Regions from separate parts of the Homo sapiens genome. Here all the other regions are linked to region 4. The links are contacts of gene promoters, found by promoter capture Hi-C in human tissues and cell types (Jung and others, 2019). All regions are on one chromosome and are shown on one strand. The core of a region is centred on a gene start or on the middle of the fragment in contact, and the rest is flanking DNA. Distances in the headings are between cores, read along the strand shown.

Evidence for each region. The method cuts DNA at HindIII sites, captures the fragments that hold promoters and counts their contacts. A contact is called where the count stands out against the background at its distance.
Region 1: a contact is called between a fragment that was not itself captured here and the fragment with the promoter of SLC1A4 in region 4, in 1 of the 25 tissues and cell types used here (hippocampus).
Region 2: a contact is called between a fragment that was not itself captured here and the fragment with the promoter of SLC1A4 in region 4, in 1 of the 25 tissues and cell types used here (dorsolateral prefrontal cortex).
Region 3: a fragment that was not itself captured here is called in contact with the fragment with the promoter of SLC1A4 in region 4 in 2 of the 25 tissues and cell types used here (dorsolateral prefrontal cortex and thymus).
Region 5: a contact is called between a fragment that was not itself captured here and the fragment with the promoter of SLC1A4 in region 4, in 1 of the 25 tissues and cell types used here (thymus).
Region 6: a fragment that was not itself captured here is called in contact with the fragment with the promoter of SLC1A4 in region 4 in 1 of the 25 tissues and cell types used here (spleen).

Annotation. Positions count from the first base shown.
Region 1 is chr2:64,135,938-64,140,187 of GRCh38, forward strand. The region is part of intron 1 of PELI1 (pellino E3 ubiquitin protein ligase 1); the gene reads right to left. Among named protein-coding and RNA genes, the nearest start is that of PELI1, 6.4 kb to the right of the region's middle. The HindIII fragment of the contact is 7,153 bases long and covers 1-4,250 here.
Region 2 is chr2:64,327,879-64,332,394 of GRCh38, forward strand. It overlaps LOC105374769 (a long non-coding RNA gene), which reads right to left. Exons shown (of 3, transcript NR_187908.1): 2 at 4,147-4,341; 3 at 2,603-2,789. Among named protein-coding and RNA genes, the nearest start is that of MIR4433A, 11 kb to the right of the region's middle. RefSeq lists an enhancer at 1-160. The HindIII fragment of the contact is 4,522 bases long and covers 1-3,673 here.
Region 3 is chr2:64,046,377-64,050,980 of GRCh38, forward strand. No RefSeq gene overlaps it. Among named protein-coding and RNA genes, the nearest start is that of VPS54, 29 kb to the left of the region's middle. The HindIII fragment of the contact is 4,282 bases long and covers 1-3,511 here.
Region 4 is chr2:64,986,620-64,991,188 of GRCh38, forward strand. It overlaps SLC1A4 (solute carrier family 1 member 4), which reads left to right and starts at 2,780. Exons shown (of 8, transcript NM_003038.5): 1 at 2,780-3,551. The coding sequence starts at 3,025. RefSeq lists silencers at 2,090-2,789, 3,000-3,179 and an enhancer at 2,782-3,366. The HindIII fragment of the contact is 13,271 bases long and covers 1-4,569 here.
Region 5 is chr2:65,585,662-65,590,196 of GRCh38, forward strand. LINC03050 (long intergenic non-protein coding RNA 3050) reads right to left here. Exons shown (of 3, transcript NR_182288.2): 3 at 3,905-4,158. Among named protein-coding and RNA genes, the nearest start is that of LINC03050, 14 kb to the right of the region's middle. The HindIII fragment of the contact is 4,701 bases long and covers 1-3,705 here.
Region 6 is chr2:64,158,378-64,162,676 of GRCh38, forward strand. No RefSeq gene overlaps it. Among named protein-coding and RNA genes, the nearest start is that of PELI1, 16 kb to the left of the region's middle. The HindIII fragment of the contact is 3,586 bases long and covers 1-3,358 here.

The DNA.
Region 1 (4,250 bases), core at 1,483-3,982, 850 kb before region 4:
TTCAGAGAATTATCCATACTTATATTTACTATTTTGTGAGATCCAATTTCTTCCTTTCCTTCCTTCTCTTGCTGCCTTCCCTCTCTTTCTCTTCCGTCAGAAGTTATTCATTTATTCCACAAAAATGGAAATGAAAAACAGATTCATGATCTTACCAGCAAATCAACAGCCTGAATGAAAGCTTTCTAAAATAAGTTACACTTCAGTATGGTCATCATCATAGAAGTTCAAAGATCTTTATGAAAAACCACTGCCACTTTTTTTTTTTAGATGAATCAAAGGTTTTAAAAGACTTTCAGAGTTAATGGAAAGCCCAGGAATTAAATATGGGCTCAGTTGTTCCATGTTAACAAACTAGTGTTTAAAATACGTTAAATAATCTAGTCTAGCAGCTCAGCCCTGATAGTATGTGCAGTATATGGTAAGAGAGTCTGGCTATCTATACATACACATGCATACATACATCTACACACACTAAAGGGACAAAAACTCTGAGTGAATTAAAGAACTAGATTCCTAACAATTTACTGAAAAATGTTTAAAATAGGAAGCTTTGTTAAAGTATTCCTTACACAGTTATATACTTATATTCTTAGTGGTCACTATGTAATTAACTACATAATAAAAGTTCATAAGTTCTACTTCATGGCATTACATTTTAAATGATTGGTTAAAAATACAAATGAGGCTGGGCGCGGCGGCTCACGCCTGTAATTCCAGCACTCTGGGAGGCTGAGGCAGTGGATCACGAGGTCAGGAGATCAAGCCCATCCTTGCCAACATGGTGAAACCCTGTCTCTACTAAAATACAAACATTTAGCTGGGCGTAGTGGTGTGCGCCTATAATCCCAGCTACTTGGGAGGCTGAGGCAGGGGAATCACTTGAACTCAGGAGGTGGAGGTTGCAGTGAGCCGAGATTGTGCCACTGCACTCCAACCTGGTGACAGAGCAAGGCTCTGTCTCAAAAACAAAACAAAACAAATGAAAACGTTGTGCTCCCCCACCATTGGACATAAATAACAAGAAAAAGAATGGCTTTCTTTACTCAATATTATCAGGAGAGTAAAAATCACTGAAATGTTTAGTTTCTCAGGTTGGAAAAACTGTACCTCTAAAGAATGAACTAGTATAGTAATTGTTCAAAATTAGTAATCCTACATGTATATTGTCCTGAGAGTAGATTTTTACAATCCATATTTATTGAGGTTTTTGGGGGCATTTAAACATTTAGATGAGATCCAATTTTTCCTATGCCTTTTTTAATAAAAACAGTTCTTATGGTAAATCAGAATGTTCTCAAAACAACTACTAATCTGAGAAATGAAGCATGAATATAAGAAGACTTAAGAACCAGATTCATCTCTTAACACTAACATGTGTTAGTCTTTTAGTTCCTTCCCCAAGTGTATGCCATAGCGACAAGACTTAAACAATTTCACTGTGTTTTAAATACCATCCCTTTAGTCTTGAATGCAGAATATAAATGAAATTTACCTGAAATTACTGTTTTGATACTTAGTATTAAGAATTGTATATGATCTTGTATGTGTGTGTGTGTGTGCGCATTTTGTGAGACCTTAAAATATCCAAATTAGTATGGTGCCTTCCATACTAGTCACTCTCAGAGGTTATATACCCTTATTCCAAATGATGCTACAATTATCCACAACATTATTAAAATTCCTTTTTAGTCTATGGGTGGATCTGACTTTTACAAACAATAACTGCCTTCTCAGACTGGATCTGATTTTTAGAAATAGCCTCAAGTTACTTCCCATTTTCTTTCTGTCAAGATCCTCTGTGAGTCATATCTGATAAATAACATGAAATATCACGTGGCCAATCACCCCTTTTTTCCTTAAAAACAAGGAGCAAATACAAAGTAATGAGCTATTTTCACGTGTGGCTCTTAAACTGGCTTAGACGACAAAAAAAATTTTTTTTTCTAAAAATATTGAGTAATGCTAGTATTGTTAAGTGTATAGCTTCCATGGTGACTACTCTAAAGTATAAGACTTATTTTAGATAAGTGTATAAAATATTTTTCCTTTAAAGATGGATAACCAGCCCTACACAATTTAGTCTTCTCTAACCTTCCTTTCCCATGCTGATGCTGATTTTATGTACTCACGCTCACCCTGATCTAGTTACGCTAGTTTTTTTTGTTTTGTTTTGTTTTTTTTAGACAGGATCTGGTTATGCTGCTCAGACTGGTCTGGAACTCCTGGGCTCAAATGATCCTCCCACCTCAGCTTCTTGAGTAGCTGGCACTACAGGTGCAAGCCACTATGCCTGGCTCACACCCTTGTCTTCTTGTAGTTTCTTGCAGTTGTAGGCACGCTCCCATCTCAGGGCCACTGCACTTACTATTCCCTCTGTGTATAATGTCTTGCTCCAAGGAGACCTGCAAGGCTTGCTGTGCTACCTCCTTCAGGTCATTACTCACTTTAACTATTTATCATCTTCTCAATGAAGTCTTTTCTCACTACCCTTTAAAACTGCATCTTGGCCAGGTGTGGTGGCTCCCACCTGTAATCCCAGCACTTTGGGAGGCGGAGGTAGGTGATCACCTGAGGTCAGGAGTTTCAGACCGGTCCGGCCAACATGGTGAAACCCTGTCTCTACTAAAAATACAAAACTCTACTGGGCGTGGTGGCGTGTGCCTGTAATCCCAGCTACTCAGGAGGCTGAGGTAGGAGAACCACTTGAACCCAGGAAACAGAATTTGCAGTGACCTGAGATCGCCCCACTGCACTCCAGCCTGGGTGATGAGAGCAGAACTCCATCTCAAAAACAAAAAACAAGAAACAAAAAGCAAAAAACTGCATCCTCCTCCGAACCTCATACACATATCCCATTTATTCTCCCTTCCCCTTCCCTGCTTTATTTTCCTGTTTGTGTGTAAAACTGTTTATTAGGGGAAATTTCAAACATACACAAAAATAAAGAGGAAGTAAGAAACCTCATGTATCCATATAGCATCTACCTTCAGCAATTTTCAATATATGGCCAATCTTGTTTCATCTATGTTCCTCTCCCTTTCAATATTTTGAAGTAAAAACCCACACATCACATTTTAAGTTGTAAACACTTCATTATACATCTCTAAAAGAACACTTAAAAAGTACATTCTCACACCTGAAAAAATGGACAAATCCTTTTCATTAAATATCCAGAGTCTAAATTTCCCCAATTTTGAATAAATGTCTTTTTACAGTTAGTTTGCTCAAAGCAGGATAGAACTAAGCTTCATACATTGCATTTGGTGGAAAAGCCTCTTAAGTCTCTTTTAATCTTATAGTTCTCCCTCCCTATTTCTTGCTATTAATTTTTTGAATAAATCAGGTCATTTTTCTTTTATTTATTTTTTAACTTCTATTGTTTTGAGGCAGGGTCTCGCTCTGTTGCCCAGGCTGGAGTGCAGTGGTGCAATCATGGTTCACTGCAGCCTCAATCTCCCAGGCTTAAGTGATCTTCCCACCTCAGCTTCCCGAGTAGTTGGGACCACGTCCAGTTAATTTTTTAAGAAACTTCTTTGTAGAGACAAGGTCTCACCACGTTGCCCAGGCTGGTCTTGAACTCCTGGACAAGAGGGATCTTCCCACCTCAGCCTCTCAAGGTGCTAGGATTACAGGTGTCAGCAACTGCGCCCAGCCATTTTTCTTAAAACGCAATGTATTTTATTTATTTTATGGTTTGTGTCTTATTACTAGAATGTAAACACCATGAAAGCAGAGATTTTAGTCTATGAGGTATCAGCATCTAGACCTGTGACATGTAAACGGCATCAATAAACACTGAATGTATTTGGCATCCATGCCAAAAGTCCACCGCTCACCAACAGCAGAAATTGCTAATCACAGTACTCTTTCCTGCTAAGTTTGAACAAGGACTCCCAGTTTTCTAAACACAGCACTCTAGGCAGCCACCACTAAACAATCAGATTTGGTACCCCAAACGAAATTTATTTGCTGTCCCTGCTTTAGCCCCCTTCAAAAGTGTACTATCCCTAAAACAGATTTCATTGCACCTTGTATGTTGAAATTTTAGCATGATAAATTACTGACTGTGTTTCTTGTCAACTACATTTAAACATTTCTTAGCTTATTTTAGACAGCTTAGGGGAAAAAGAAAACTGTAGCCAAAAAAATAATAGAAAAAGAAACTGCAGAAGATGGTGGGAAACCGCGGGTATTACATATTTTTAGAATTAGCAACATCCCAAGAGGCTCATTATAAAATAAAAATT
Region 2 (4,516 bases), core at 163-2,662, 660 kb before region 4:
ATTAGAGTGTGATCTCAAAGACAAGCTGGTCTTTTCATCTGAATTAAATGAAATAGGCCAATATGCTCTTCTAGAAGATCAAACATACCCAGGACAATGTTCAATCCTCTTTCTTTGTCCCACTTTGGGACAAAAACCAAACTGGGGAAAAGAACGGGGAGGCTGGAGCGCCTGCTGGGGCCCCTTCTCTGCCCACACGGCTCCTCTTGGGTTCTGGGCAGGCTGAGCTTAGCGGGCATTGCCCTCTGCTGGGGCATATCAGGAGAAATGAGCTAAGGCCAGGGGTGGTCCTATCAGGTGGCAGAGGACAGGATTTGGACGAGTCGCAGGGCTATTACTGATGGAGATTTAGCACTCTGGCCTCTGAGAAAACAGCCAGGTTTCTGATCTGCCCAAGCCCTCTGTCTCTCCTGTCAGGGGCCTTCTCAGCACCCCCTAAACATTCCAATTCCTCTCCTACTCCAGTCTATTCCCTTCTTTCTCTGAATGGTCCATAGCTTATCCCAGGTCTGTGGGCAGAGGGGAAAGAAACAGAAGGGAGAGCTGAGAAATCTCTCCCGCCCAGCACAGTCGGTATCACAAGCTCTGTGTCCGGTTTCCTTGTCCTATATTTGGTAACACGACAGTGGCCTTTCTGACTGATGCGAGCCCCTGTTCTCTTCACTCCCTGGGGATTGCTGATAGGAGGCCAGCATTTCAGTAGGCAGCGCATCATCAGCCCTACCACGGATCTTATTTTAAACTAATTACATTACTGAAGGGTGGGTAGGAGGGAGGAGAAGGGGTAATTATAACCGGGGAATTTTTTTTTAAAGGCCTAGTTTCAAAAATCTCAGACTTAATTTAGTAAATTTCAATTACAGAGAGTTACTAAGCTGAAGATCATTTGCATTACATCCTTAATTACTACTTCATTTGTATCTGAGATCATCAATAGAGATTCTTGGGAATGTGTACTTGGAATAAGTGATTGATCCTAATGAGGCCTTTGTTCCTCCCAAGCCTCACTTAGGAAGCTATTTCTTCCCTCTTGCAGAGGCACAGAGTTTGCCAAGCCAGGTGGAGACACCCTAAACTAGAAATGGAGCCTGAGGTTTTCAAACTGGTTTTGCCAGAGGCTGCAAGACTCTAAGCTCTGTCCTGATGTTCCCCAACAGGCATTAATTGCTCTCCCCTGAATGCATTAGCACTGCCAGACTATTACGGATGATTAGCCTCCGTGCCCAGCTACAAACGTCCATCTTTCTTAGTTGGTAGCAGAGGAAATAGCCTTTTAGGACCTTCTCCTTGCACAGGATGGATGCCGTCCTGGACCTTCCTGCTTCTGCGTTTCCCGCCACCTTTAAAGAAAGTGCATCCAGCAGTCCTGGCCACTGGGTCTTTATTGGAAAAGCTGTTTTCCAAGATGATTTAACTCTGAAAAAAAAAATGAAAAGCCCACAAGAACTGAAGACCCTGTGTGCGTGTGTGTGAGTCTGTATTAAGACCCCTTTTATAGGAGACAGACTCCTTTTGGGGAAGAGGGAGAGGTAGGGAAAGGACGAAGTGAGTAAAGGCACTCTCAGCTAAATCCTGCATGCCCATAGTTCCTTCATTGTATGGTACCTCACACCCTTACAGGGCTTTACCGAGCGCTTGTTCATCTGTTAGCTTACAGGTAAGAGAATCATTGTCCTCATTCTCTGAGTGAAGAAACTGATGCTCACAGTAGTTAAGTGACTTTGCCCAAAATTACTGAGCTGAGGAGTGACAGAATGGGGACTGAAGTCCCAGTCTCTTAATTCTGTGCTCCTCGGATACCCCCAAACCACCTCCATGGTCTTCCAGCAGCCTGAACATTTATCCATTTATGGAGGTCAGGGTGTGGGTCCCACTGCAGCCTGCTGCCCCATTTAAACTTTATTTCTGAATCTGTACATTTAAGCAAACCACTTTGTTTCAGAGGCATCCAGAGAGTAGCCTTACTTAACCTTCTTCTGGAGGTGTGTCTATTTGGTGGAGAATGGTGGAGGGGCCTGGAGGGAAGGAAAGGGAGGAGCCAGTAGGGAATTTTCACAGTTTTCCACCAGATGAGGCCAAAGCCCAGAAGTCAGACAAATCCACGATTCTCCTGGCATTCTACAGAGTTGCCAACTCCCTGCCCTGCTCTTTGCTCTCATTATTCCTCTGGGGTGGTTTCCAAGGGTGGAGAAGTGTAGGCTGAGGAAATGTCTGTGTTGAGGGAGGGCAGATGCTGTGAGGAGGGAGGTGTTTACACCAAGCATCGAGCCAGGCCTTGGAGTCACAGGGACAGGCCCAGAGCAGGAAGTGTCCTCCAAGCTAGAAGTCCTCTAGTTCAGAGGTTCTTTGTCTCCTCAAGAACCTCCTGGAACCTCCTGGACATTGTAGCATCCTCTGCAATAGCCACTACCCCTAGCAGTGCAGATGGAGTACTGTAGTGAAATGAACAAATTTTTTGGAGCTCAATAACTCTGGGTTCAAATCCCACTTCTGCTTATGAGCTGAAAGATCTTGAGTAAGTCCTGTAACCTCCCTAAAGATCAGTTGAGATTACCAATATCCACTGCCTTGGCTGTTCTGAGGTTGAAATGAATCACGTTAAACAAATAGCAAATGGTGGCTTTAATTAGTAGAGGGTTAGAGGGCAGCCAGACAGTGGCAGGACAAAAAAGGAGGGCTGCTTGTCCTGTAGGCAGTAGCAAGGAGCGGGAGTGGATTCCACAGTGAAGCAGCTTCCAAGGGCTTTTTGTAAGCAGCCCCTATGCTGGCTCTGGGAGAGCTCTGAGAAACTAGTTTGAAAAGCATAGAAGTCATAAAATAGCACCAGTATTTTTTTTCTAGTGTGAGCAAAAATATTCATGCAGACAAATCCAAGCCAATCTTCTGGGACTAAGACTCTAAATATTACTTGTGAGTCACCCCAGCTTCCTTCCAAGAGAAAGACTCCCCCATCCCCTCACCCAACACCCCCGTCCGTGACACATTAAGATTGTAGCTTTTCAGCTTCTTCCACCAAACTCTCAGTCCCTCATCGTGGGCATGAGGACAGCCCTGTGTGCAGAAAACGTGTTTCTCCATTTCGGTCTCTCTCTTGGTTAAAGCCAATTTCCAAAAAAACCAAAACCACCTTATCAGAGCAAGACCCATGTCAAGCTCCGCAGCAGGCACTAGGTGGCGCTAGATCCCATGTTATTAAGGCAACTCTAAAGCTGCGCCCTTTTCTGGAAAAATGTTTCTGTTGTGAGATCCTCTCTTTCCCAGAGACCTGAGACCACCTCAGTTTATACCACAAGCTTAAAGCGCCACCAGAAGATCGCATACTATCTCAGGAGCCCCAGCTTTGCTGCTAACCTAGTCCTTTTCAGGGTGTGGCTGTGGAAGGAGTTTCTAGACCTGAGGCTGGAGACCCCAAGTCCTTTGCTGAACTGTAAATAATATTAGGAACAAGTAGTCCATTTCAACTTCTGCTCTGCCCTGAGGCGCAGGAAGGAAAACAACTTTTTCCCTTAGGAGGAGGTGAGGAAAAAAAAGAGGCAGATCCTAGAAGCTCCTTTGTGAGAGCAGCCAAGCATCTTCCCTGCCCTCTCCCGCAGAATGGAGGCCCACCCCGACCTCAGGTCATTTCCTTCCATGGCCAGCCCCCTCTCAGGGTGAAACATGATCCTCAGTGCCCCTCTGGAGGTAAGCTGTAGGTTCTTTTTTTCTCCAGGGATCTGAGCTGAGGTTGCCCTGAAATGCCTGTTTAATTTCATTGCCGAGAGCACACCTTCTCATTATTTCGAGAGCTGTGACCCCAAAGCACTTATGAACAATAGCAGCAACTGGCAGTTATAAGCTATTTACAGTTTTCTAAGCGTTATGAGCACTCTTGATGCCTGGAGAGGCAGGTGAGTTGCATTTTCTGTTTGCAGATACAGTGACTGACACCCCAGGGTCTCATTGGAACTGCTGGCACTGATGTTGTCTCTTGGAAATGATGATGATCATTGTTGCTTATTATAATTTTCACTGTTATGTTCCCTTTGATGTGTAAGAGGCCAAACAGAACACAAGCTTTTGGTTAATGGGTTTCCTGTTGGCTGAGTCTATCTGGGCTGAATGTGGAGAACCACTGAAAGGAGGTGAATGCCCTGAGCAGACCTTTACCTTCTTGGCCATGTGAGAGTTTACTGCAGTAGGAAGCTGGGCTCCGCAGAGTAAAGGGCAGGTGTGTGGGGAAGCCTTCCTTGCCCCTTCCACCGTGTGAAGACATAGGGAGACGATGGCCATCTATGAACCAGGAGGCAGGCCCTCCCAAGGCCTGTTGCTGGCACTTTGATCTTGGACTTCCAGCCTCTAGAACTGTGAGAAAAGAGTGCCTGCTGTTTAAGCCACCCAGTCTGTGCTATTTTTGTTAGAGCAGTCCGAATGGACTAAGACAGAAATTGGCATGCCTCTGTGACGTCGCAGAGACATTTAAGCCCTCAAAGAGGCCAGCCCCCTCTCAGGGTTTTTCTGGAAAAATGTTTCTGTTGTG
Region 3 (4,604 bases), core at 121-2,620, 940 kb before region 4:
TGATCCCATTACATGTTCTGCCCTGCAAGTTAGAATGCGGACTTAAATGAAAAATTAAACTATAGTCAAGATTTTAAAAACAGTTGAGGCTGGGCAAGGTGGCTCATGCCTATAATCCCAGCACTTTGGGAGGCCAAGGCAGGTGGATCACCTGAGGTCAGGAGTTCGAGAGCATCCTGGCCAACATGGCGAAACCCATCTCTACTAAAAATACAAAAATTAGCTGGGCATGGTGGCAGGCACCTGTAATCCCAGCTACTTGGGAGGCTGAGGCAGGAGAATCACTTGAATCTGGGAGGTGGATGTTGCAGTGAGCCAAGATCGCACCATTGCACTCTAGCCTGGGAGACAAGAGCGAAACTGTGTCTCAAAAAAAAAAAAAAAAAAAAAAAAATTGAAAATGTGACCCACACTCTCCATATTCATTCATACTCTCTATGTCCTTTGATTTAACCAGTATTCTTGTCATACCTTAATCTCTTCTTAATGAATAAGATTTAAAAAGATGTATCGATGGAAATAATGTGTTAAACAACTTATCTGTTGACATAGCAAATAAGTAGAATTATTTTAGAAAGCTATTTAGTAATCTGTATCAAGATGTTGTTTTTTTACACCAGAATTGTTTCAATGTTTGTTTTACCCCATATTCTCATTCTTGATAATTTATTATACAAAATTATAATATTTGCTGAGCATTGCCACATGCTCTTCACTGTAATGGATTGTAGATTAACTTGCAGTAAGGAGAAAAGCACTTTCCACAAACATATTTATTTCAGTATGAACTAAAATGAAAAACATAGGAAACTAAACTTCAACAACTAGGTAAATTTTTATATAACAACTCAAAGGAATAATTCAAGACATTAAAAATGTGTAAATTATAAAATTGTGTGTTAAATGAATGCAAATAAAAAACTATAGAAGCAAAAAAAAAAAAAAATGAAAGTTAAAGAGGCAGAATTTTAAATAAAATGTTGCCTTAAAAGTTACTTGAGGCTGGGCACCGTGGCTCATGCCTGTAATCCCAACACTTTGGGAGGCCGAGGCGGGCGGATCACAAGGTCAGGAGTTCGAGACCAGCCTGGGCAACATGGTGAAACCCTGTCTCTATTAAAAATACAAAAATTAGCCAGGTGTGGTGGCAGGCGGCTGTAATCCCAGCTACTCGGGAGGTTGAGGCAGGAGAATCGCTTGAAACTGGAAGGCGGAGGTTGCAGTGAGCTGAGATCGCGCCATTGCACTCCACTCTGGGTGACAAGAGTGAGATTCCACCTCAAAAAAAAAAAAGTTATTTGAAAAACTACACACACACACACACACACACAAATGTGTAGAAGGATCAGATAATACAAGGCTTCATTTCATTTCTTTGGCTGTTGAGGCAACTTTTAAAAAGCCTTCTCTTACACCAACAAAAATATTCTTGTCCTTTCCTGCTTTCATAGCCTACATCTTCCTGTTTGTGAATACAGGTAGGAGATGTTGGAGTGGCAATCTGGGGCTCTCCCGTGGTTTACAGTGAAGAAAATAACTCAGTTTCATCAAGAGGCTGGCAAATGTTTTGCAGATATTTTACAATTGTATCAACCATAACAATGCCACAGATTCTACAAGGCTAAAAACCAGGCAGCAAGGCATTTGTCTTTCGGCTATTTTTGCTTAGAAGTTATTGGTGTTTGGCCTTATTTTCTTATATTGTAAACTTTTTGGATATTGGATATTTAGTTGTAAATGTCAGCTTGTTTATATTTGAGTTTACTCAACATTGGAATCCCTAAGGAATTCTTGAAGTTTGATAAATTCCCAGATACAACGGCACAATTCAGGGAGAGGAGTTTAGAGTCGTGAGTACCCTTTGCAGGAAGATAATGGTAAGCAAAACCTACTCTTAAAAGTTGTGTTGGGGGGTAGACCACAGTAGCTGATGGATGGTGAATGGTCTCAGGGTGGGAGTGGAGAATGGAGAAGGAAGAGGAGGCTCTGGGGCATAAAATGATGGGCCCTATACTAGCACCTCATTCTTGCTTTTACAGGGGAGGGAAAGACTTTTCCTCTACCCTCCTAGGTTTAAAATTTGAGTCTGTGAAACAAACTGACAATACGCAGATTAACCGGAGAAAAGGTATACAAATTTATTGCATGGATGGGGCATCACAAGAGAAAAAAAAATGAATACCCAAAAAAGTGGTGAGATTTGGGAGCTTATACTGTCTTCGTAGGGGAAAGAAGAAGAGGGATATGGACAACTTAGGAGAGGGTAAATAATTTGGGGGAAAGAATGAGCCCTTAGGGAGATGGAATCGTTTGTAGCAAACTCTTACATTCTATTATAGATGTAATAGAAGTGGTGTCCACTTCTAATCTTCTGTCCTGTTGTAATAGTCAATCTTCCTGGTTGATTAACCTACCAGAGAGGGGAATTAATGACAACTGAGTTCATTTTGGAGGATCTGTCTTCAGGCAGGTAAGGGAGAGTTCAGAGAAAGCCTCTCCCTGCATTTGCTGTCTTTCAAGTGTCTTCAGCTTCAAATAATTAGTATACCAAAGTAGCATATTTTGGGGTGGCATGTCCCAAATGCCTTTGCTTTCTTTTTTCTGAGTTTGGGAAATGTTCTTCCTTTTCTTGGGCACACTGTCCCCACCAAAGACAGAACAAACAAACAATTCAAGCTTTTATGCAATGAGATAGACACTGTGCTAGGCCTGCTCCCATTTTTGGCCTCCTGCAAAAATCCCAAGGAGCAACCTGGGAATATTTTTTTTTTTTTTTTTTTTAAGATGGAGTTTCGCTCTTGTTGCCCAGGCTGGAGTGCAATGGTGCGATCTCAGCTCACTGCAACCTCCACCTCCCAGGTTCAAGCAATTCTGCCTCAGCCTCCCAAGTAGCTGGGCCTACAGGCATGCGCCACCACACCTGGCTAATTTTTGTATTTTTAGTAGAGACGGGGTTTCTCCATGTTGGCCAGGGTGGTCTCAAACTCCTGACCTCAGGTGATCCGCCTGCCTCGGCTTCCCAAAGTGCTGGGATTACAGGCATGGGCCACTGCGCCCGGCTGCAATTTGGGATTTTTGTAGGAAATCAGGAACAAGGCTCAGGAATGCTGTCCTGAAAATGATCAAATCCTTTCACCTGCCTGTCTTGCTAGGGGCGTGGAGAATACATAAAGGTACACAGAACTAGAAGGATGGAGGAAATAATGAGGCTGTCATGGGAGATTTCCTAAAGGTTACTATGAATTAGCTAATTTGTGATACCTTGTTGCTAATTGCTGAAGAGAGGCTGCTCTTTTATTCAGAGTTATGGCTATGCCAGTTCCTTCTGGGCACTATTCATATGCATGAGTTTGCCTCTTGTTCTACATCAGTGCCTCCTGGTTTGCCCTCCTCTTTACACTCTTGACATGCAGAGGTGAAGGCAAGTGTGGTTGTGCTTTCGTTAATTTTGTATGGGAGGAAGTGGTTGTTCAGTGACCTTGGAAAAGCCCAGTGCTGATGTTTTACAGCAGGTGGCAGCCTTTCCCTGGGAGAGAAGACAGAGCTAGTCTGATCTAATGCAAAATTGTTTAGGGTTTTATTGCTTTTCCTTGATAGACGTGTCAAGTGATTACCTGACCCTGAAGTTGAAATTGGCTTTATCACAGAGGGAAGAGAAGCAGAGATCCTAAGCCCTGGAAAAGGGAGTGTAAACTCACTTCTGGGGCTCAATCCCACAGCTGCTGCCTCTGAAGAAACTGGTGGCTGCCCTCAGGGAGTCTGGTCAAGTTCAGACACCACATGGCATCTCTGAGCAAGGGCCCACAGAGAGACACGGATTGGAGCAGGGAGACACAGATTGAAGCAGATCAACAATTATCCTGCTGTATTTTGTGAAGGAGGGCATTTGATAGCAGAAGTACCCCCCTTTCCATTCCAGATGTGTAAAGCAGCCTTTTTTTTTTTTTTTTTTTTTGAGATGGAGTCTTGCTCTGTCACCCAGGCTGGAATGCCATGGCGCAATCTTGGCTCACTGCAAGCTCCACCTCCCGGGTTCACGCCATCCTCCTGCCTCAGCCTCCCAATGTAGCTGGGACTACAGGCGCCCACCACCATGCCCGGCTAATTTTTTTGTATTTTTAGTAGAGATGGGGTTTCACCGTGTTAGCCAGGATGGTCTTGATCTCCTGACCTCGTGATCCGCCCGCCTCAGGCTCCCAAAGTGCTGGGACTACAGGCTTGAACCACTGCGCCTGGCCGCAGCCTTTTAAACTAATCTGCCAAATGGTTTTCTTAAGGTTATTCAGTTACTTGCATTCAAATTTGCAAAGTGCTTAATAAAAGGAAAGGCAGACTTGGTGGAGAAGCTTGATGCTGGAAATACATCCAATTTGTTTCTGAATTCTTTTTTGTCTTTTTTAATTTTTTGTTAATTTTAATTTTTTTGAGACAAGGTCACACTCTGTCACCCAGGCTGCAGTGCAGTGGCATGATCTTGGCTCATTGCAACCTTCGCCTTCCAGGTTCAAGTGATTCTCGTGCCTCAGCCTCCCAAGTAACTGGGACTACAGGCGCTCACCACCATGCCCATAGGAGTTTTCTGTATTTTTATTAGAGACGGGGTT
Region 4 (4,569 bases), core at 1,530-4,029:
GCGCCATTTTTGCAGGAGGCATAGAGGGCACATGGCTAGAGAGCAGGCTGAGGCCAGATCATGGTAGGTCTCGAATGCCAGGATGAGGAACACATTCTTAATTCACTGGGAGCCACTGAAAGCTTTTGAACAAGAAGTGATATGAAGGAGTTGTCCTCCAATATCATTTTTCTGTGTTTCCTTAGTAACAGAAACTCCAATTTTTTAACTGGGTGGATGCCTGTGTAAAACAAAAATTACATTCCCTAACGTTTCTTGCAGAAAAGAATGGTCATTTGACTAAATTCTTATCGATGAAATATAAGAGAAATAATGTGTATGACTTTTAGGAAGTGTTTTTAAAGAGAGATGCCATGCCCTCATTGCTCTTTCTTTTCTGCTGGGTGAAAGCTGAACTTTATCCTAACATGTATATTACTCATTAGGAAGATTAGCCTGGGGCAAGGCAAAATACAGGATGGTTGGAACAAGAGGAGCATTGGAGGTGGGAAGACTAATTGGGAGAACATTTCAATAGCCCAGATAAGAAGTGAGGAAATAAGAACTGAGCCAGTGTGGTAGCAGTGGGAATAGATGGGATGGGCAGATGTGATAAATATTGTGAAAGGAATCTCTGTGGGACTTGGCAATTCATTAGATGAGAGAAGGCACCACAGAGGGAAGAATCAAAGTTCGCTTTGAAGTTTCACACAGAGGTGACTGGGTCATCAATTATGTTTTAACCGAAGGGATGAGCAGGTTTGAGGAAGGCAACCATGAGTTTGGTTTTGAACATTTTAGTTGGGACGCCTGCAGGATATTCAGGTGAAGATGTAAAACAGGCAGCCGAAGACTCATTTCTGGAGCATGATTTGAGAGTCTTTTGCATAAACGTGGTAGTCAAAACAAAGGGAAGGGCTGATTGGCAAAACACAGTGTGTGTCTGTAGGAATTACTCTTTCTTCAGTGCACATAGAGAAATGAACTGCATTCTGGAAAGCCAGATATAAATATGTGCAGCTCTTCATCTGACACTACCTCCCCCGCCCACCCCCCCCCCCCCCACACACAATCCTTACAAGTTCTAGCCAATAGCTGGCTGGCTCCAAGCAATAAAATACTCACTGTCTCAAAATTTGGACAGCTCCTTAAAGTTCCTTATGAAGGCATTTTGATTTGCACAAATATGTCATGACATGTTTTAAGATGACTCCTTTATAGCAAGAAATCTATAGTAAATTGCCTTCCTCCTTAATTGAGGTTAGCCACAATTAAGTCTTCCCTTGCCTGGCACAGTGGGTGGTGCCAGCTACCAAGGAGGATCCCATAAGCCCAGGAACTGGGAGACCAGCCTGGGCAACATAGCGAGACCTTGTCCCAGAAAGAGAGGAAAGAAAGGAAAGAAAGGGAAAGAAGGAAAGAAGGAAGGAAGGGAGGGAGGGAGGGAGGGGGGGAGGAAGGAAGGAAGGAAGGAAGGAAGGAAGGAAGGAAGGAAGGAAGGAAAAAGAAAAAACAAAAGACCACCCACGGAAGTCTTTAAAGAACAATTCACAAGCAGAATAAAAAAATATAAAAATATAATAACTGTGATACAGTAAAAAGACTCAGCAGAAGTTTCCCTTGTAACTCGCGTGGCCAAAGCAGATATCAAATAAAAGATGAAATAAACAGGAAATCCATAGAACGTGAACAATAAGGAACCGTTCAGGATGGCCAAACCGCCGTCTGCGCTGTTTTCTCGCCAGGGCTCAGGCCTGGGAACGGAAGAGGTTAAAATCCAGTGGCTTGTGTTTCAGCTTTGGTTACGTGGCAGAAACCAACTGGAAGTGGTGGCGTGAGAGCTCTGTTTCTTCTAGAAGAGCTTTGCGTCTTAAACGCCCATACCGCAGACAGCTGCCTGGCGGGCGACCCAGCCCCATCCTGATGGCCCCAGGACACAAGCCCAGGAGCGCCCCGGTGCGCGCGGTTCCGCGGCCCAGGGGCGCCGGGTTTGGTGGCACAGCGAGCCCCCTTTCTCTAGCGGTATGGCTGCGTTAGAGCCCTAATGAGCGCGTGCGAAGGCTCCCCTTATTCATCCATCCTCCGGTCCGTCCTTTGTCTCAAGGCCGGGGCCTTGCTGGGCACCATGGCGTGCTTTACCGCACAAGCCCCTGAGGACCCCTGGAAGAAGGGATCTTCCGCAGGAGGGGACGCGACGGCAGGACCGCCCCGGGCCCCCTCACCGCGCCCGGCCCCCTGGCGGGAGAGGCCGGCGAGCTCTGGAGAGGAGCGCGGGCCGCGCGGGGCGAAAGCGCCACCCGGGAGAGAGGGATCCTCCCCTCTCCTCCTCTCTTCTCCCCTCCCCTCCCTCCCCTCCCACAGTCCTCAGGAGGAGGAACGCCGCTGCGTTCTAAGTTCTCCCGGGCCCTCTGGCCCCGAGGACTCAGATCCCGGCCGCGGGAGAGGGCCCGGCAGGTGCCAAGGAGCCCGGGCGGTCCTTCAGCCCGCACTTCCCCGCGGTCGCCCGGAGCCGGCCTCCGTTAGCCGGGCGGGTAGGCGGCTATTGGCGCCAGGATTGGCCGGCGCCGCCCGCGCCCCCGCGGCCTCGGGTGGAGCCTCCCGCCCGGCCGCCCCCTGCGGCACCCGCGACACGGGTGGGGACCAGAGGCTCCCGGCGGCGGCTCCCGGCGGCGGCTCCCGGGCTGTGATTGGCCAGCGCCACAGGGGGCGGGACGGCGGGCGTGAAGTGAGCGGGCTGGGGCCGCTGGCGCGCCCTCCTACTTCCCCGTCTGCGTCCGCGTTCGCGGCTCCCGTTTGCATCATCTCCAGCCGGCGGCTGCTCCAGGGAGGCTGGGCGCGATCCTCTCCGCCCGCGGCTCCAACCCGCACTCTGCGCCTCTCCTCGCCTTTCTCGCACCTGCTCCTGCGCCAGGCCCGGAGACCCCCGGGGCGGCTTCCCAGAACCTGCGGAGCACAACTGGCCGACCGACCCATTCATTGGGAACCCCGTCTTTTGCCAGAGCCCACGTCCCCTGCCACCTCTAGCTCGGAGCGGCGTGTAGCGCCATGGAGAAGAGCAACGAGACCAACGGCTACCTTGACAGCGCTCAGGCGGGGCCTGCGGCCGGGCCCGGAGCTCCGGGGACCGCGGCGGGACGCGCACGGCGTTGCGCGGGCTTCCTGCGGCGCCAAGCGCTGGTGCTGCTCACCGTGTCCGGGGTGCTGGCGGGCGCGGGCCTGGGCGCGGCGTTGCGCGGGCTCAGCCTGAGCCGCACGCAGGTCACCTACCTGGCCTTCCCCGGCGAGATGCTGCTCCGCATGCTGCGCATGATCATCCTGCCGCTGGTGGTCTGCAGCCTGGTGTCGGGCGCCGCCTCGCTCGATGCCAGCTGCCTCGGGCGTCTGGGCGGCATCGCTGTCGCCTACTTTGGCCTCACCACACTGAGTGCCTCGGCGCTCGCCGTGGCCTTGGCGTTCATCATCAAGCCAGGATCCGGTGCGCAGACCCTTCAGTCCAGCGACCTGGGGCTGGAGGACTCGGGGCCTCCTCCTGTCCCCAAAGAGACGGTGGACTCTTTCCTCGACCTGGCCAGGTAACACTCTCCACCTCTCCCAGGGCCCAGTGGGAGACGCCAGTTCTCGGATGCCCTCCAGTTCATACACCCATATGCTTATACACTCCTAAGAGTTAATTCTTAGCTGGCTGCTGGTGGCGTTTAACGTTTTAAAAATATCAAAATGACGTCTGGAGTTTTTGCGTGCTGACCACACCTTTGCAAACAGCTGGGGCGCACCGCACAATCGAAAGAGCAGGGCCGCATCTTTGAGCAAGAACCAGTCCCCACCGTTAGGTGGGCGTTTGTTAGGGAAGAGCCAGCCGCCCCGCCTGTTCTTTACTCCTTATACTCTCGCGCTGCTCTCCCCGGTAAAAATGTTCCGACCACGCCCCAGTGGCTTCGCCTCATTTTCTCCCACATGGTGCCTAAAAGCTTCTGGGAGCATTGGTTAAGTTTTGCCTCTTGGGTCATCCGGCTTGCAATCTATGGCCTTCTCTGTTACAGTCCTTGGCTGCGAAGGAAGCTGGCAATTTTCTGCAGTTATCAGTGGACCCACGGATAATAGGGCTGGGGTTAGTTGAGTGAGACATATTGCCCAGAAATATGCCTCTCCTGAGGGCTTGGGGCTTGGGACAGGTTGCTGTCCACCCCAGTAAAGACCACGGCAGAGTGCTGTGTTTCAAAGGCCTTTCTTTGTGCGAAAGTGTGAGTTCTAGAGGGGAGGGAGAGAAGCATCTTCACTTAGTTTTGCCTGCTTTTTGCAATTCTTAGAAGTTGCATTTCATCCTTTGAGATGATGTAGTATCCTTTCTGTGACTTATCCAAAACCTTGGTCTCTCCTGGTTTCTCCATTAGCCCAAAGTTCACAAATGGGGAAACTGCAGCCCGGAGGCATTTACTGATCTAACCAGGTTCAGTTGAGTGAGGAGTCCAGCTGGCTCCTTCTCCAGATTTCTGATGATTTTGGATTCTGAGCCTTGGAGTTATTAATATATTTTGTCTTGAGTTATTGAGGCAAAGCTCCTCATTGCTGAGGTTGTGAAAAACAGCAAAC
Region 5 (4,535 bases), core at 105-2,604, 600 kb after region 4:
TCTGCAGGGTCTTTCATTTTTTTTTTGAGACAGAGTCTCGCTCTGTTGCTCAGACTGGAGTACAGTGGTACGATCTCGGCTCATGGCAAGCTCTGCCTCCTGGGTTCATGCCATTCTCCTGCCTCAGCCTCCCTAGTAGCTGGGACTACAGGCACCCGCCACCACGCCTGGCTAATTTTTTGTATTTTTAGTAGAGATGGGGTTTCACCGTGTTAGCCAGGATGGTCTCAATCTGCCGACCTTGTGATCCGCTCTCCTTGGCCTCCTAAAGTGCTGGGATTACAGTCGTGAGCCACTGCGCCTGGCCAGGGTCTTTCATTTTTTTAAAGAGACTATCAGATCTCTGCGAAAGTCTAAGTGTGGGGCAATATGCTTTTTCTAAATACTCTGTACCTTTGCTCACTGAATGATTTTTGTGTGTGTGTGTGTGAGACACAGTCTCACTCTGTCACCCAGGAGTGCAGTGGCATGATCTCAGCTCACTGCAACCTCTGCCTCCCAGGTTCAAGCGATTCTCCTGTCTCAGCCTCCTGAGTAGCTGGGATTACAGGTGCATGCTACCACGCCCAGCTAATTTTTTTTTTTTTTTTTTGTATTTTTAGTAGAGATGAGTTTTCACCATGTTGGCCAGGCTGGTCTCGAACTCCTGACCTCAGGTGATCTGCCCGCCTTGGCCTCCCAAAGTGTTGGGATTACAGGCGTGAGCCAGGTTGCCTGGCCCAAATAATTTCTGTTTCAGAATCATTTTTATTTTCCTTTGGCTGTGTAAAAGAATCCTTGAAATTTTTAAGCTAGCACTGAACATACAAACACTACTTGCGTAATTCTCCATATCTCTGATTTAAATTGATAATCCACTTAGGATGTGATAAGAAGTTTAAATGTTAATTCTCCAATGAGGTATTAACTAAAGATCCTGTGCTCAGACAGTCTATAAGTTCATTTGTTCAACTGCGTAAAACAGTAGATTCCATGATTGCTGCTCAGGGGTGAATTCCGTGGTCAGATCCCAGGCTGGGAGTTGCAAGGGCTATCATCAATCTATTTTCTCCTTTTCCTAACAATTATCAGCACTAACCACACAGAGATTAATGGGCACCAGGCAGTGGAAAGAGGGCAGTCGACACTTCGTTGAGATTGTGTTTTCACAGATCTGTCACTGTTAACTCCAGTGACCCTCCAAATTAGTTACTGCATTGTCACTGGGGCCTTCAAGCCAGGCTTTTTGAAATGTCCTTGGGATTTTGTGGGCTATCCTTTAGTTTCTGTTATGTCTACAGGTTTCAGGGATATTTACTAAATCCAGAATATCCTGTATCAGTGCCTCTGTCCTCCTCATTAAGTCCAAGAGAAGCCATCAGACATAGTCCTGGTGTACTTGAACCCTGAAGCTTCCCAAAGGCAGGGGATGGATTCCAAGAGGCCAGGAATCCTTTTTATCTTTATTTATTTATTTATTTATTTATTTATTTATTTATTTATTTATTTTGAGACGGAGTCTTGCTCTGTTGCCTAGGCTGGAGTGCAGTGGCACCATCTCAGCTCACTAAAAGCTCTGCCTCCCGGGTTCACGCCATTCTCCTGCCTCAGCCTATTAAGTAGCTGGGACTACAGACGCCCGCCACCATGCCTGGCTAATTTTTTGTATTTTTAGTAGAGATGGGGTTTCACCGTGTTAGCCAGGATGGTCTCGATCTCCTGACCTTGTGATCCACCCGCCTCGGCCTCCCAAAGTGCTGGGATTACAGGCGTGAGCCACCGCACCCGGAAGGAATCCTTTTTTTCTTTTGGGGGTTCTCCAAATAACTGGCTCAGAAAGTTACTGTGGGTGGTCTACTTTTATATTAAGCTTCCTGCAAGCTTCCTTGGAGGAAGTCCCCGTTTATTTGTATATTTATTTTTAAGGGAGTTGTGCTTTTTCCAGGTCTTGATATAATGTATTTTACATCTCACATAAAAGACCCCTCTCTTGCATAGTCACTCCCAGGCTTGGCTTAGGGAAATCTGGACTTTTTCTGTTAATTGCTTAATAAAAAGAATAGCTCCACTGGTAAGTGAATGAGAGCCACAAAAACTGAAGACTGGGAGAGAGTCTTTAAGGGGATCTGAGGCAGCTCTGAGAGGAGCGGGTGGGGTGGACACTTGCAAGAACTGTGAGGCTTGATGTCCATGTAGAGGCTAAAGTAAGACTTAGGGTTTGGGGAGCTGAGATGGACAGTCTCCAGCGATCTGCATATGTGTGTGTGTGTGTGTGTGTGCGTGTGAGTGCATGTGTCTTTTGGGTGAGTGAGAGGTATGTGTCTAGAGTATTCAGTGTATTAGGTTCCTGCTGCTGCTGTAACAAATGACCATAAACATAGTGGCTTAAAGCAACACAAATTTATTAAAGTTTTAATTTATTTTTTTTTAGAGACAAGGTCTTGTTCTGTCACACAGGCTGAAGTACAGTGGTGCAGTCATAGCTTACTACAGCCTCAAACTCCTGGGCTCAAGGGATCCTCCCATCGCAGCCTCCTAAGTAGACAGTACTACAGGTGTGAACAACTATGTCAAGCTAATTACAAAAATTTTTTTTGTAGGATGGAGTCTGGCCATGTTGCCCAGGCTAGTGTCAAACTCCTGGCCTCAAGGGATCCTCCTCCCTTGGCCATCTAAAGTGCTGGGACTTCAGACATGAGCCACTGCCCCAGCCACAGGTTTATTCTCTTACAATTCTGGAGGTTAAAAATCCTAAAATTAAGGTGTCAGTGGGGCTGCATTTTTTCCAGAGGCTCTATGGAAGAATCTGCTTCCTAGACTTTTCCAGCTTTTTTTTTTTTTGTAAGGGACGGAGTCTCACTCTGTCACCCAGGCTGGAGTGTAGTGGCACGATCTCAGCTCACTGCAAGCTCCGCCTCCTGGGTTCACGCCATTCTTCTGCCTCAGCCTCCCGAGTAGCTGGGACTACAGGTGCCTGCCACCATGCCTGGCTAATTTTTGTATTTTTAGTAGAGACGGGGTTTCACCTTGTTAGCCAGGATGGTCTCCATCTCCTGACCTCGTGATCCACCCGCCTTGGCCTCCCAAAGTGCTGGGATTACAGGCATGAGCCACCACGCCCAGCAACTTTTCCAGCTTTTAGAGGCTGCCTGTGTTCCTTGGCTTGTAGCCCCTTCTATCTTCAAAGCAGCAGAGTGGCATCTTCAGGGCTCCCTCTCACCCTCTAGCCTTGTATCTCTTTTGACTCTGGTGCTCCTGCTTTCCTCTCATAAGGACACTTGTGACTACACTGGGACCCTGGAATAATCCAGGGTCATCTCTCTATCTCAGAATCCTAAACTTAATCACATCTGCAAAGTCCATTTTGCTATGTAAGGTTATATAATCACAGGGTTTGGGGTTAGGGTTTGGGCATCTTTGGGGAGCCATTATTCTGACTTCAACATTCAGTATGACAGATCTACTACTACCTTCACTTTACTGCAAAGATCCTCAGAGAGAAATGAGGATGATGATGGCAGTGGTTCATAGTACCTTATGTTAGATAATGATATACCATTTACAAAACTCTTAGGATTCGTTTCAAGCCCACTCAAGTGTAGTTGGATGACACTGGGACTTTGAGTCAAGAGCCCTGATTTCATCATTTACTAGCTGTATAATCTTCAGGCGATTTACTTAACCTCTTGAGGCTCAGTATTCCTATCTATAAATTGGGAAAATGTGATCAGTGGGAAGAACTGGCTAGATGATGGCTAAACTGAGAATCTTTGAATGTTTTACGTGACAGTTTTCTTTGGGGAAGTGCTGTCTAACTCTTTGCAGCCTGGGATGAATTTATAAATGTGGCCAGACTTTTTTTTTTGTTTTTCACTCTCCATTTGTGTTAGTTCAGATCATCTGAGATGCAGACACCAAAATGGAATTAGACACACACAAGATTTATTGGGGAAAATGTGGCAGAAATGGGGAGAGAATGAAGGAGGCTGAGAGAGCCATCAGACCACATACAGGTCTGACATCTGTGGAGGAGAGAACCAGGGTGGAGCTGGGACTTTCTGGAAGAGGTTTTGGGTGAGGTGGGCTGGCATCATTTTATGGTGGGCCTTGGATAAGGTGCAGCAGAGGGTTCTTGGCAGAGGAGTAATTCAATCCCAGTTGGCTTTTAGGAGGGTTATCCTAGGATAGAGTAGGGTGCATTAGAATGGGAAAGCACATAGCCAGCAGTCATCCTGGGCTGCTGCAACATTCCTTAGGTGGGTAGTGCTAAGGTTCTGGATCAGGTTAGTGACAATGAGAATGGAAAGGAAAGAACAGCCAAGTGCAATTATCCATCCCGAAGAGATAAATGTCTCCCATTCCTCCCTGCCAAATAGAACCATCGGAATGTGTTAAATCAGTTGTTATTGCTAAGGGGTCAGTAGATGTTTACCATGCTGTTAGATGATTACTTTGAAGAATGGTGTTCATTTTGCATCTATTGACCCCATCCCAACGTGGGCTGATCTGATAGCTTCATTGTGCAGTCCATTCTTCTTCTCTTTACTTTCTTTCCT
Region 6 (4,299 bases), core at 316-2,815, 830 kb before region 4:
AATTTGAGATTCAGTTAAAACATTTGTTTATTCAATTGCTAGATTTCATTGTTCAATTAGAACCATGAATATGTAACGTTTATGAGATAATTTTGCTATCCTAAAAAAGTTGTTGCTATTCACTACTCAACAATAGCTATTTACCCTCATCTTTTACTCTCCATTTCCAAATTCCAACAGATTATTCAGCTAGAGGATTAGACTGGGCTAGTAGTTGAAGATAAATAGGTGATAATTGACACAAGGAAATGGAATACATAATATAAATATTTGATGTTTTAGTAGATTATGAAATGAGTTAGGTGTTAAGATTTATAAATATCACGGCTTTACTGATAACATGGTGAACTATGGACTTGGCTATTGATACGGTTGGCTATCCGTGAATAAAAGGCAAACATTTGTACATGGAAACACAGGCAAACTGGTTGGCTTAGCATAAAACTGCAAATCTATCTTTACAAGTGGAACAGAAAAAAATGGAGTTCAATCATATAGTAAGAAAAAAAGAAAAAGAGCCAGGCATGGTGGCTCACGCCTGTAATCCCAGCACTTTGGGAGGCCAAGGTAGGAGGATTGTTTGAGCCTAGGAGTTCCAGATCAGCCTGGGCAATGTGGTGAGACTCTGCCTCTAAAAAAAAAGAAAAACAATTAACTGGGTGTGGTGGCACATGCCTGTAGTCCTAGCTAGTTGGGAGGCTGAGGTGAGGGGATTGCTGGAGCCTGGGAGGTCAAGGCTACAGTAAGCCATGATCATGCCACTGCACTCCCACTTGGGCAGCAGAGGGAAACTGTCTCAAAACAAAACAGAACAAAAAGGAAAAGAAAGAAAAAAAGGCTATCTCGCAGTTCTATGTGGTAAAAATCCCAATTACCTTGAGATCTTTATCCAGCAATCAAAATAGGACTCACTAACCCAGAAGTCAAAGTAAAACCTCTGAGCTGCTTTAAAAAAAAAAAAAAAGAAAAGGTTTAAAAAGCTATATACTGAAGCTCAGAAACTTGATTAATAGAAAAATTTATTATGTTTTAAACTCATTGAAAGAAACCTGATTATTTCATTCCTCGGGCCATAGAAGATTAGAAACAACAAAAATTTTCCATTCATTACAGATTCTAACATCTATTGTGTGTTAACTATGTGTGAGGGATAATTCCACAAGCAACTGATTTTATCCTCTGAGGTAAGTATTATGACTCCCCTCATTTTACAAATGAGAAAACTGAGGTGGAGAGAGGTTGATTAATTTAGCCAAGATCACACAGTAGAAAGTAGTAGCGTCAGGATTCAAACACAAGTTTTCTACTGGTGTCCACACTTTCAGGTACTACTGGCAAACAGCAGGGTCTATGGACACAGCAACGAACAGAGCATCAGAGGTTCCTGTTTTCACGGTTGAGAAGCAACAGGGAACAGTAAGAGAACCATGGCCGGGTGCGGTGGCTCACGCCTGTAATCACAGCACTTTGGGAGGCCAAGGCAGGTGGATCAAGAGGTCAGGAGTTCGAGACCAGCCTGGCCAGCATGGTGATGCCTGTAGTCCCAGCTACTCAGGAGGCTGAGGCAGGAGAATTGCTTGAACCTGTTAGGCAGTGAGCCGAGATCGCACCACTGCATTCCAGCCTGGGCGACAGAGTGAGACACCGACTCAAAAAAAAAAAAAAAAAAAAAGACAGAGAGAGCCGTGAACTGGCAGGAGCAAGAACTGTGAAGAGCAGAACAACAGGGATGGGAGCTGAAGACTGGGGAGCACTGGACTCTTTACAGTTATTACCTCATTTACTCTTTACAACCATTCTGCAAGTTACCATCATCATTGTTTAGATGAAGAAATTAAGGCTTTAAAAAGTCAAATACATTTCCCCAAATTGCACAATTAGTAAACAGTGGACCTGGAGTTTGAATCCAGGTCTGTCTGACACCAAAGCTTAATTTTTCTCACTATACCTCACTGCTGTAACAAAAAACTACAAACACAGGCGCTTAAAAAACATTTCAGTCTGGGCCACTCTGTGTAGAAGGAAACAGTACTGAACATACTATGCTAGTCATTGAGGGCTTTGTTGAATGCATAAATGGTTGAATATAAAAATGGCACTATAATGAATGTGTAAAATTAAGACTCTAATAATTGAGAAACAACTGCATTCTGTTGGTTAGTCTCCGTTTAAGAAAACAGGGTAATGTATGGTATATTTTTAAAGTCTAAAAATAGATATGGTTAAAATAAAACTAATCTGTGGATTTAAAGGAATGAGTTTCAAGTACTTAGAAAATTCTTCTATGTGGAATATCTATTTTCTAATGATACCAGATAAAGTTTTCAATACAGAGAAACAGTAGAAATAGACATATTAAATAAAGGTTTATGCTATTTTGTGTTAACCTTTATTTAATACAATAAATAAAGGGTCCAATAAAAATAAAGGCCAAATAACCTTTATTTAATAAAATAAATAAGGGCCCAATAAAAAATAGTCCCTCCTTGTTTCATGTTTTCCTAGAAAAAATAAAAAATAAAACAACAGTAGTCCCAGCCCTTTAATAACAACTTAGATTATGTGTTAATGATGATTCATACAGTATTTTTAAATGTTTTTACAAATTATAAGAAATTATAATTTATCAGGAATTCAAACTATTAGAAAGGTAAAATAATTGGATTTTCCCCTGCAGTATACTTTGGTGAGAAAGAAAGGACATGAGATGTTCTTCAGAAAACCTCCAAACTTTAAATTCAGGTATTCAGCCAAGTAAACAAATCATTTACTTAAAAGAACAATGTATATTTTACATCTTTAATGCATGTTTAACTCCATTTCCTACACTTTCCCCATCTATATTACTGTATTGATGATTGGTCCCGTAATGATAATCATGATATACATTCTGTTCTCTAAGCTACAAAAGAACAAAAAGATAAACTACATTCACTGCAATTGAAGAAGAATATATTTGATTTCTATATATATATATATATATATATATATTTTTTTTTTTTTTTTTTTTTTTTTTTTTTGAGATGGAGTCTCACTCTGTCACCAGGCTAGAGTGCAGTGGTGCCATCTCGGCTCACTGCAACTTCCGACTCCCTGGTTCAAGCGATTCTCCTGCCTCAGCCTCCCGAGTAGCTGGCATACAGGTACGCGCCACCACACCTGGCTAATTTTTGTATTTTTAGTACAGATGGGGTTTCACCATGTTGGCCAGGATGGTCTCGATCTCCTGACCTTGTAATCTGCCCGCCTCGGCCTCCTAAAGTGCTGGGATTACCAGTGTGAGCCACTGAGCTCAGCCTTGTTTTCCATATTTAAAAATTAGTCAATTATTGCTTATCTGGTAGCTTTCAGATAACTCAAATATTAATTATTAATTCTTTAGATTTTTTTTGTTTTTTGAGTTGGAGTCTCACTCTGTCACCCAGGCTGGAGTGCAGTGGTGTGATCTTGGCTCACTGCAACCTCTGCCTCCCGGGTTCAAGTGATTCTCCTGCTGGCCTCCCAAGTAGCTGTGATTACAGGCACGTGCCACCACGCCTGGCTAATTTTTTATATTTTTAGTGGAGACGGGATTTCACCGTGTTAGCCAGGATGGTCTCGATCTCCTGACCTTGTGATCCACCCATCTCGGCCTCCCATAGTGCTGGGATTAAAAATTTTTGTGAAAAAATTTTTGGAAAGTTTTCCTAGAAATATAAGAAAACCATGTTTTCATTGATTGCACAGTTACTTGTACTGACTTCCATTGACTTTAAAGTCCTATGTCCTGCTTAGGAGTTTGACATATTTTTAATGAAAAAAATTTTTTTTTTCTTTTTGAGACGGGGTCTCATTCTGTCACCCAGGCTGGAGTGCAGTGGCCTGATATCGGCTCACTGCAACCTCCGCCTCTGTGGTTCAAGCAATCTCTCACCTCAGCCTCTCCAGTAGCTGGGGATACAGGCGGGAGCCATCATGCCTGGCTAATTTTTATATTTTTAGTAGAGATGGGGTTTCACCACATTGGCCAGGCTGGTCCCGAACTCCTGACCTCAGGTGATCCGCCTGCCTCAGCATCCCAAAGTGTTGGGATTACAGGTATGAGCCACTGTGCATGGCCAAAAAATTTTAACGATTTAAAAATAGTAAGAATTTTTCAATTGGTTAATGATCATAGACAACATTCAAGCAAAATACCATTTGATACTGAATAGTTCTAACATTTTAATTGTATTGCAAGAAAACTTTGTGTTGGAGATAATTACTTAATTTAGATCCGAATATATGTGCACTGGAAAGTGGCACTTTATGTTGATTACA